2 separate regions of the Homo sapiens genome follow, and region 1 is linked to region 2. The links are contacts of gene promoters, found by promoter capture Hi-C in human tissues and cell types (Jung and others, 2019). All regions are on one chromosome and are shown on one strand. The core of a region is centred on a gene start or on the middle of the fragment in contact, and the rest is flanking DNA. Distances in the headings are between cores, read along the strand shown.

The links. The method cuts DNA at HindIII sites, captures the fragments that hold promoters and counts their contacts. A contact is called where the count stands out against the background at its distance.
Region 1: a contact is called between a fragment that was not itself captured here and the fragment with the promoter of ATP6V1E1 in region 2, in 1 of the 25 tissues and cell types used here (H1 embryonic stem cells).

The regions. Positions count from the first base shown.
Region 1 is chr22:17,388,016-17,393,212 of GRCh38, reverse strand. The region is part of intron 1 of CECR2 (CECR2 histone acetyl-lysine reader); the gene reads right to left. Among named protein-coding and RNA genes, the nearest start is that of CECR2, 21 kb to the right of the region's middle. The HindIII fragment of the contact is 4,080 bases long and covers 514-4,593 here.
Region 2 is chr22:17,626,000-17,631,182 of GRCh38, reverse strand. It overlaps ATP6V1E1 (ATPase H+ transporting V1 subunit E1), which reads left to right and starts at 2,434. Exons shown (of 9, transcript NM_001696.4): 1 at 2,434-2,580. The coding sequence starts at 2,548. It also overlaps a transcript of BCL2L13 not described here. RefSeq lists enhancers at 2,309-2,478, 2,420-2,509, 2,590-2,739. The HindIII fragment of the contact is 10,651 bases long and covers 1-5,183 here.

The DNA of each region.
Region 1 (5,197 bases), core at 1,304-3,803, 240 kb after region 2:
AATTTGCTTAGGCTGGGGAAACAAGAGGTAGGGAGAGCTGGGGAGGCAGGGAGCTCAAGGGTACAGGGTTTCTTTTTGAGGTGATGAAAACCTTATAAAGGTATGGTTACGGTGGCAACAGTTGTAACTATTTGTAAATATACTAAAACCCACTAACTGGAACACTATTTTCTGAGACAGAGTCTCACTCTGTCACCCAGGCTGCAGTGCAGTGGCGTGATCTCAACTGACTGCAACCTCCACCTTCTGGGCTCAAGCCATTCTCCTGCCTCAGCCTCACGAGTAGCTGGAATTACAGGCGGGTGTCACCACACCTGGCTAATTTTTGTATTTTTAGTAGAGACGGGGTTTCACCATGTTGGCCAGGCTGGTCTTGAACTCCTGACCTTGTGATCTGCCCACCTCGGCCTCCCAAAGTGCTGGGACTACAGGTGTGAGCCACCGTGCCCGGCCTACTTGTTGAACACTTTAAATGAATGAGTTGTATAGTATGTAAATAATATCTCAATAAAGCTGTTTTTTTTTTTCTTTGAGACAAGGTCTTGCTCTGTCACTCAGGCTGGAGTGCAGTGGTATAATTTCGGCTCACTGCAACCTCCATCTCCCTGACTCAACAACTTCCACCTCCCTGGCTCAAGCAATCTTCCCAGCCCAGCTTCCCAAGTAGCTGAGACTACAGGTATGCAACACCATGCCTGGTTTTGTTTTATTTTATTATTCTATTTTTGAGACGGAGTCTCACTGTCGCCCAGGCTGGAGTGCAATGGCACGATCTTGGCTCACTGCAACCTCCGCCTCCCAGGTTCAAGCGATTCTCCTGCCTCAGCCTCCTGAGTAGCTGGGATTACAGGCATGCACCACCATGCCTGTAATTTTGTATTTTTAGTAGAGACAGGGTTTCGCCATGTTGGCCAGGCTGGCCACTGCGCCTGGCCAATTAAAAATTTTTTTTGTTGTTGAGACACGGTCTTACTATGTTCCCAGGCTGGTCTCCAAGTCCTAACCTCAAGCAATCCTCCCATCTCAGCCTCCCAAAGGACTGGGATTACAGGCATGAGCTACCAAGCCACGCTTATTTTTTTAAACAAAAAACATTTGTATTCGGCCAGACGCGGTGGCTCACACTTGTAATCCGAGCACTTTGGGAGGCCGAAGCAGGTGGATCACCTGAGTTTGGGAGTTCGAGAGTTCGAGACCAGCCTGGCTAACATGGTGAAACCCCGTCTCTACTAAAAATACAAAAATTAGCTGGGTGTGGTGGCGCATGCCTGTAATCCCAGTTACTCGGGAAGCTGAGACGGGGGAATTGCTTGAACCTGGGAGACGGAAGTTACAGTGAGCGGAGATTGCGCCACTGTACTCCCGCCTGTAAGAGTGTGAGACTCCGTCTCAAACAAACAAAAGCATCTGTATTCAACAATCACTTTAATCCACATAAGCACACTATATTGGTATATTTTTACAATTTTATTTCATTATACTTTGATTTCAAAATAATATGTGATCATTCAATTTATTTGTCAGTTAATTCCTTTCTCCCAAATGATTATAATTTCCATATTATTACCATAATCAAAATCTAAAATGAAAGAAAATGTAACAATAATTACCAGTTGCTGAGATCTATTTGGGCCAGGCCCTCACATGCTTGGCTCATTCGAACCTCACCACAGCCCTATGGAACACGAGACAACCAAGATGCAGATGAACAAGCTGAGGCTCAACAGGGCTAAGTGACAGGTCCAGACCTTGGGCAAAGCCTGGACCGGAGCCAGAGTGATTCCAATCAACTCTCTGTTGTAATTACTTCACTAGTAGCCCTGCAGCTTGAAATTTAAATCATTTTACCAATGTTTCCCGGTTTCCCTACATCTAGGATAACTGGGTTGGCTTCAGCCTGCCTAAAAACAATTCCCCTACCAACCAACCAGTGTGTAAACCAGGATGGAGGTGTGGTACATCTATAAAAGACACTGTGGGGACAACTGAGGATATTTCAGTGTGAACTGTTTACTGGATGTTATTACAGAATTACTGTTAATTTTCCTAAATGTGAGTATAACATTGTGGTCATACAAGAGAAAGTCCTTATTCATAGGAAGTACATGTACATGTGAAACTATGAAGGGGTAGACTCTCATGACACAGTCGACTTACTTTCAAATGGTTCAGCCAATGTGGCAAAAGTGTTAACAATTGGTACATCTAGAGTAAAGGGTACGCAGGGGTTCACTTATCTTTGAACTTCACCGAACATCTGAAAATTCTCAAAATAAAATAGGAAAAGCTTTAAAAAGCTGAAGCTTTAAAAAGTAATTTCACTTTCTGAACATTGTTTATCAGTGTTCATCTCCTTTAGATTAATTTTCAAAGTTAAAAAAATCAAAGTCTTTTTATAAATTATATTTTTATCAGATATTAAAAACAAATGGTTTTGGGTCAGGAGTGGTGGCTCACGCCTGTCATTCAAGCACTTTGGGACCGGCGAGGTTGAGGCTGCTGAGCTATGATGGTGCCACTGCACTCCACTTTCGGCAACAGACCAAGACCTGTCTCAAAAAACAAAACAAAACAAAACAAAATAAAAACACCTGGTTTAGAATCAAACGCTTAAACTTTATGGATGAAAACTGCACGCCAACTTGTAAAAAGGAATCTGGCAACTGTGATGTAATCACTGATTCAGGCAATTCCTAACGGGTTAATTTGGAGAAGAAACAGGATGTTTGCAAAGTATCTCCCCACAACGTACTTGTTAATTATAAGAGAAAAACAGTAACTTTGCAGTGGAAAGCAGACATCACCCTAACCAAGTGATCAAAGTTAGTAACCACCACCAATAAAGGGCACAATGAAAGTGATGTAACTGCTGATACTATGCACCAAGGGCACGGCCCTCTTCAGCACTCCCGCCAAAAACACATGACCCAAGTTATCCTGAGAGGACTTCCAACAAGCCCAAGTGGAGGGACCGTCAATAGAATGAATGGCTTTTAGTCTTCCAAAAAGGTCAAGCTCAAGAAAGACAAACACTGAAAAACGGCTCTATTTTAAAGGAGACTAAAGAGACTCAACAACTAATGGAATGCCTGATCCTAGACTGAAAACCTGAACCAGAAACAATTTCTAAAATAATAATATATTTAAAATTCATAAAAATAATGTACAAATTATATATATTATTGGCTCAATTGGCAACATTTGATATACTATTATCTACAGATCTTACTCAGTATTAAGTTCCTGATTTTAATAATTGTACTTATATGTATAAGAGAATATTCCGGCCAGGCACAGTGGCTCATGCCTGTAATCCCAGCATTTTGGGACGCCGAGGTGGGCGGATCATCTGAGGTCAGGAGTTCAAGACCAGCCTGGCTAACATGGCAAAACCCCGTCTCTACTAAAAACACAAAAATTAGCCGGGCGTTGTGGCGCATGCCTGTAGTCCCAGCTACTTGGGAGGCTGAGGCAGGAGAACTGCTCTAACCCAGGAGGCGGAGGTTGCAGTGAGCCAAGATCGTGCCACTGAACTCCAGCCTGGGCAACAGAGTGAGACTCCATCTCAAAAATAAATAAATAAATAAAAAAGAATATCCCCGAGCTGGGCGTGGCGGCTCATGCTTGTAGTCCTAGCTACTTGGGAGGCTGAGTCAGAAGGATTGCTTGAGCCCAGGAGTTCAAGACCAACCTGGGCAACACAGCGTGAGACCCCACCTCAAAAGAAAAAAACAATGTTTTTAAGTCATAAAAACACTAAAATGTCAAGGAGTGAAAGGTATCACGTCTTCAACTTATTCTCAGTGTAGAAAAACAGTAATTACACAGCTAGAGATGCCTAGCTAGCTAGCCGGACAGGCAGGCAGGCAGTTGGGAGACAGAAGAGAATGGTACCAAAATTCATGTAACTTTTATGATAAAATATAAAACAAAAAGTAACTATGAAGATAGCTTGGTGGGGAGAAAGAGGGAGATGGCAGTAAAGCACATGGTGTAAAACTGAACACGTGGGGAATCTGGGTAGGGAGCTTAGGAATTCTGTGTACCAGCCTTCTAAGTTTCCGTTAAGTCTGACATTACTTAAAAATAAAGTTTTTAAGGCCGGGCGCAGTGGCTCACACCTGTAATCCCAGCACTTTGGGAGGCCAAGGAGGGTGGATCACTTGAATTCAGGGAGTTCGAGACCAGCCTGGCCAACATGGTGAAACCCCGTCTCTACTAAAAATACAAAAGTTATCCGGGCATGGTGGAGTGTGCCTGTAGTTCCAGCTACTCGAGAGGCTGAAGCAGGAGAACTGCTTGAACCCGGAGGCTGAGGCTGCAGTGAGCTGAGATCGTGCCACTGCACTCCAGCCTGGGCGACAGAGTGAGACTCCACCTCAAAAAAAAATACTAAAATAAAATAAACAAAGTTTTTAAAAAACCCAACCCAGAGTTACAGTAGAGTGGAAAAATGATAAAAGGAGCTCTTAACAGTTATTAACATATTTTGTAAGTAATTTAAGCAAGTGAAGAAAAAACTGAATTGCTTTCACTTCTAAAATGTCTCCTGACTCAGTGTTCTCCGTAAATTGCGTAAAAGATTCCTTTCTAATACCACGACACTAGCTAAAATTTAATCTCACCCACCTTCCCATATACTCTCAAGAACCCGCACTGGATGTCAGTTTTCCTGTCTCACTAGCAGTACTGTTCAATTCATTTACCAAAAAATGCCTCCGCATTTTCCTGAAGTCTGCCGGTATGGGTTCTGCCACCCGCTGGGCATGCGGCCTTGGGTAAATCGCTTCACTCTGAGCCTGTTTCCTACAGTGCTGTCATGGTGATGCCTGCCTCATGGGGGAATTAAACAGATGGGTCAGTTCGGGCATGAGAAACACTTGAGACAGTGCATGGCACCAAAATTCATGTAACTTTTATGATAAAATATAAAACAAAAAGTAACTATGAAGAAAACTTGGCCAGGCGCGGTGGCTCATGCCTGTAATCCCAGCACGTTGGGAGGCTGAGGCGGGCGGATCACCTGAGGTCAGGAGTTTGAGACCAGCCTGGCCAACTTGGTGAAACCCGTCTCTACTAAAAATATAAACATCAGCCAGGCATGGTGGAGCGTGCCTGTAGTTCCAGCTACTTGGGAGGCTGAAGCAGGAGAATTACTTGAACCTGGGAGGCAGAGGTTACAGCGAGCCCAGATGGC
Region 2 (5,183 bases), core at 1,185-3,684:
GGAGGTTGCAGTGAGCCGAGTTTGCACCACTGCACTCCAGCATGAGCGACACTCTTCTGTCTCAAAAAAAAAAAAAATTGAGTGATTTTCTACAACTGGCCTATATTCTTCAAAATGTCACTATCAAGAAAGATAAGTCTGAGGAAACTCTTCCATATTAAAGGAGACTAAAAAGACATGATCACTAATGCAGTAAGTGACCCTGGATCCAATCCAGGTTATAAAGGTTATAAAGTAAGGTTATAAGAAGGTTATAAAAGGTTAAAAAGTAAGGTTATTAAAAAAAGGTTATGGCTGGGCGCGGTGGCTCACGTCTGTAATCCCAGCACTTTGGGAGGTGGAGGCAGGCAGATCACCTGAGGTCGGGAGTTCAAGACCACCCTGGCCAATGTGTTGAAACCCCATCTCTACTAAAAATGCAAAAATTAGCTGGGCGTGGTGGCAGATGCCTGTAATCTCAGCTACTGGGGAGGCTGAGGCAGGAGAATCAATTGAACCCGGGAGGCGGAGGTTGTGGTGAGCCGAGATTCTGCCACTGCACTCTAGCCTGGGCAACAGAGCGAGACTCCATCTCAAAAAAAAAAAAAAAAAGAAAAGAAAAAGAAGGCCGGGTGCAGTGGCTCACACCTGTAATCCCAGCACTCTCGGAGGCCGAGGCAGGTGGATCACGAGGTCAGCAGTTCAAGACCAGCCTGGCCAACACAGTGAAACCTCATCTCTACTAAAAATACAAAAATTAGCCATGCATGGTGGCAGGCACCTGTAATCCCAGCTGCTTGGGAGGCTGAGGGAGGAGAATCACTTGATCCCGGGAGGCAGAGGTTGTAGTGAGCTGACACCATGCCGTTGCACTGCAGCCTGGGCGACAGAGTGAGACTCTGTCTCAAAAAAAAAAGAAAGGGTTATAAAGTACATTGATGGATTGATGGGACAAAGGAATTTGTTTTTTTTTTTTTTGTTTTTTTGAGACGGAGTCTCACTCTTATTGCCCAGGCTGGAGTGCAGTGGCACGATCTTGGCTCACCGCAACCTCTGCTCCTGGGTTGAAGCAATTCTCCTGCCTCAGCCTCTCCAGTGGCTGGGATTACAGGCACACACCACCACGCCTGTTAATTTTGTATTTTTAGTAGAGACTGGGGTTTCTCCATGTTGGTCAGGCTGGTCTCGAAATCCCGACCTCAGGTGATCTGCCCACCTCAGCCTCCCAAAGTGGTGGGATTACAGGCGTGAGACACCGCGCCTGGCCCGGGACAAAGGAAATTAATGTTCAGCCTAGTAAACTAAATTTCCTGAATTTGCTACATCCTCGTTCTTATGACACACTAAAATAGGAAGTGTGTGTGTGTGTGTGTGTGTGTGTGTGTATGAAAATAAAGTGTTAATGTACATGTAGCAAAATGTTAACAATTGTTGAATCTAGGTGAAGGGAGGTCAATGCAGTATTCTTACAAGTTACTATATCTCAAATTTCTTCAAGATAAAAAGCTAATAAAAATGGTGGGTAACCATAGCACAGTAAAAAGAAAAAAGTGGGTGTACCATTTGACCTCTTATTCTACTATTAGGAGTCAGTCTATCCTAAAGATAAAGGAATTTTCAAAAGTTTTTGCCTTTGGGATTTTGGGGAAAAAAACGGGCTTGAGGTAAATCCAAATAAAAACAAATGAGCCTGGGGGGATTTCTGTCCTAATATTCCTCTAAATGGGACCTGGGAAGGCTTTTGAAAAATATATAGGCTATCTCAGAAAAGTTCCAAATAAATTATGTAGCTGCTCCACCCTAATAAGGAAGTTGAGCATAGCTTCCCACTCCCTAGGTGTGGGCTTTGTATAGTGGCTTCCTTCCTAAGACTACAGTATGGAAAGGGGGTTAAAAAAGGTAACTTCAGAGTGGAGAAACCTACAAACCCTACACTTTATTCAGGTAATCAAGGTTGACATGAATAGTCAGAAATCATGTATCCCCCTTTTTTTTTTCTTTTGGTAGAGACGGGGTTCCTCTATGTTGTCCAGCCTGGTCTCGAACTTGAGGTCAAGCGATACACCCGCCTTGGTCTCCCAAAGTCTCCGGATTGCAGGCGTGAGCCACCACGCCCGGCCAACAATCATGTACCCCTAAGCCCATAACCCTGTGTAATTATGCGAAAAATTCCAATAAAGGCACATTCTCCAATATACCTAACCAGTACTCCTCAAAACAGCCCGACTAATTTCAGATAGAGGAACTCCTTATCTTTTCTTCCTCCTACCCAAGATCCCAGTTTAGGAAAAAAATACCGGTCAGGTCACGAGTCAGCGACGTAGAAGGACCCGAGGACGCGCCCACAGGCCGGGACAGGGCGGGACTTCCTGGGCGTCGCTCTCTTCCCATTGGCTGAGAAGGGTCATGAGGATGAACTGTGCAGTCACCTGGCAGGAACCGGAACCCGCGGTTATAAAGTAAAGGAACCCGAGATCTGCGCAGGGGTTCCCTTTGCCGATTTCTCTCACCTCACCTTTCAAACCTAAACTCGAGCCTACTGTTCACCGGCCTAGCATTGCTCTCGCCATGGCTCTCAGCGATGCTGACGTGCAAAAGCAGGTGAGGGGCTTGGTTGGGTCTTACGAAGCCGCGGCGGCAGTCCCGGGGAGTGGGCTGGAGCCCGCCTAGGGAAGGCCGCGGGCCTTGAGCCGCCCAGATGCCGCAGGAAGGTCCCTTGCTCCAAGTCACCAGATCCAAGAGGTCGGCCTGAGGACGGAGATTTGCCCCGCAGCTCATGTGACTTTTGCTCGGGTCTTGGGCACTGCCCGCTTGCCTGCGCGCTGCCTTCTTGAACGCCCTGGCTCTTTGCCTCCCACCTCAGCATTCCCTGTTTTCCAAGGGTATTCACTGTGCCTAGTCGGACAGAGATCTGTGCAAGGATTGAAAACAGCCTTGTGGCCAGGGGCAGTGGCTCACGCCTGTAATCCCAGTATTTTGGGAGGCCGAGGCGGCCGGATCACCTGAGGTCAGGAGTCCGAGACTAGCCTGGCCAAAATGGTGAAACCCCGGTCTCTACTAAAAATAGAAAATTAGCCGGACGTGGTGGCGCGCGCCTGTAATCCCAGCTACTCGGGAAGCTGAACCCGGAGGCGGAGGTTGCAGTTAGCCGAGATCGCGCCTTTGCACTCCAGCATGGGCGACAGGGCGAGACTCCCTCTGGAAAAAGAAAAAAAAAAAACAAACCAGCCTTGTCACTTTTTTTTTTTTTAACCCTGAGGGAAATGCTTAAGGCTATATGATAGGAAACAGTGCGGAGGGAAGAGACCTGCTTCCAACCAGTGTTTTGACAAGGTCGTTCACTTTATGAACTGTGTTTTTTTCTTTTTTTCTTTTTTTTTTTTTTGAGACGGAGTCTCACTCTGTCGCCCAGGCTGGAGTGCAAGGGCGCGATCTCGGCTCACTGCAACCTCCGCCCCGGGTTCAAGTGATTCTCCTGCCTCAGCCTCCCTAGAAGCTGGGATTACAGACTCGCGCCCCAAGCCCGGCTAATTTTTGTATTTTTTTTAGTAGAGGCAGGGTCTCACCATATTGGCCTGGCTGGTCTTGAACTCCTGACCTCAGGTGATCTTCCCACCTGGGCCTCCCAAAGTGCTGGGATTACAGGCATGAGCCAACGCGCCAGGCCTGTATGTACTGTTAATCTTCATTTTGGGGAAGTCCCCTCTATCATAATGGATTGTAATGATTGGTCTCCCACTAATGTGTGTGTTAACATTTGTGAGATACAGGCTGGGGCCGGGCATGGTGGCTCACGTCTGTAATACCAGCACTTTGGGAGGCTGAGGAGGGCGGATCACCTGAGGTCAGGAGTTCGAGACGAGCCTGGCCAGCATGGTGAAACCCCATCTCTATTAAAAATACAAAAAATTAGCCGGGCATGGTGGCGGGCGCCTGTAGTCCCAGCTACTCGGGAGGCTGAGGCAGGAGAATGGCGTGAACCCGGGAGGCCGAGCGACCCTGGGCGGCAGAGCGAGACTCCCTCTCAAAAAAATAAAAAAAAAAAGATTGTCTGGGCCTAGTGGGGTGCGCCTGTAGTCCCAGCTACTCAGGAGGCAGAGGCAGGAGAATCGCTTGAACCCGGCAGGCGGAGGTTGCAGTGAGCCAAGATTGTGCCACTGCACTCCAGCCTGGGTGACAGAGTGAGACTCCATCTCAAAAAATTTTAATATTAATAAACACAAATACACGCCAGGTGTGGTGGCTCACACCTGTAGCCCCCAGCACTTTGGGAGGCTGAGGTGGGAGGATCGCTTGATCCCAGGAGTTCAAGACCAGCCTGGGCAACATAGACCTTATCTCTAAAAAATTTTTTCTTAAAAAATAAGCCAGGCTGTCTGGGCATGGTTGCTCATGCCTGTAATCCCAGCACTTTGGAAGGCCGAGGTGGGCATATCACCTGCGGTCAGGAGTTCCAGACCAGCCTGGCCAACGTGGCAAAACCCTGTCTCTACTAAAAATACAAAATTAGTGGGGCGTGCTGGCATATGCCTGTAATCCCAACTACTAGGAGGCTGAGGCAGGAGAATTTCTTGAACCCGGGAGGTGGAGGTTATGGTGAGGCGAGATCACACCATTGCTGCCTGGGCAACAGAGCGAGACTGTCTCAAAAAAAAAAAAAAATTGCCAGGTGTGGTGGGGCACACATGTGCTCCTAGCTACTTAGGGAGGCTGATGTGGGAGAATCATTTGAGCCCAAGGGGTCGAGGCTGCAGTGAGCTATGATCATGCCACTGTGCTCCATCCTGGGTGAGAGAGCAAAAGACCCTGTCTCTAAAAATATTAAATAAATAAACAAAATTGTGTCAAATGGAAGACCGCTTTTTCTTTTCTTTCTTTTTTTTTTTTTTTTTTTTTGAGACGAAGTCTCGCTCTGTTGCCCAGGCTGGAGTGCAGTGGCATGGTCTCCGCTCACTGCAAGCTCCACCTCCTGGGTTCATGCCATTCTCCTGCCCCAGCCTCCCGAGAAGCTGGGACTTACAGGCGCCCGCCACCACGCCTGGCTAATTTTTTCTATTTTTTATTAGAGATGGGGTTTCACTGTATTAGCCAGGATGGTCTTGATCTCCTGACCTCGTAATCTGCCCACCTCGGCCTCCCAAAGTGCTGGGATTACAGGCATGAGCTACCGCGCCTGGCCAGGACCCCTTTTGCTTACATTTAGG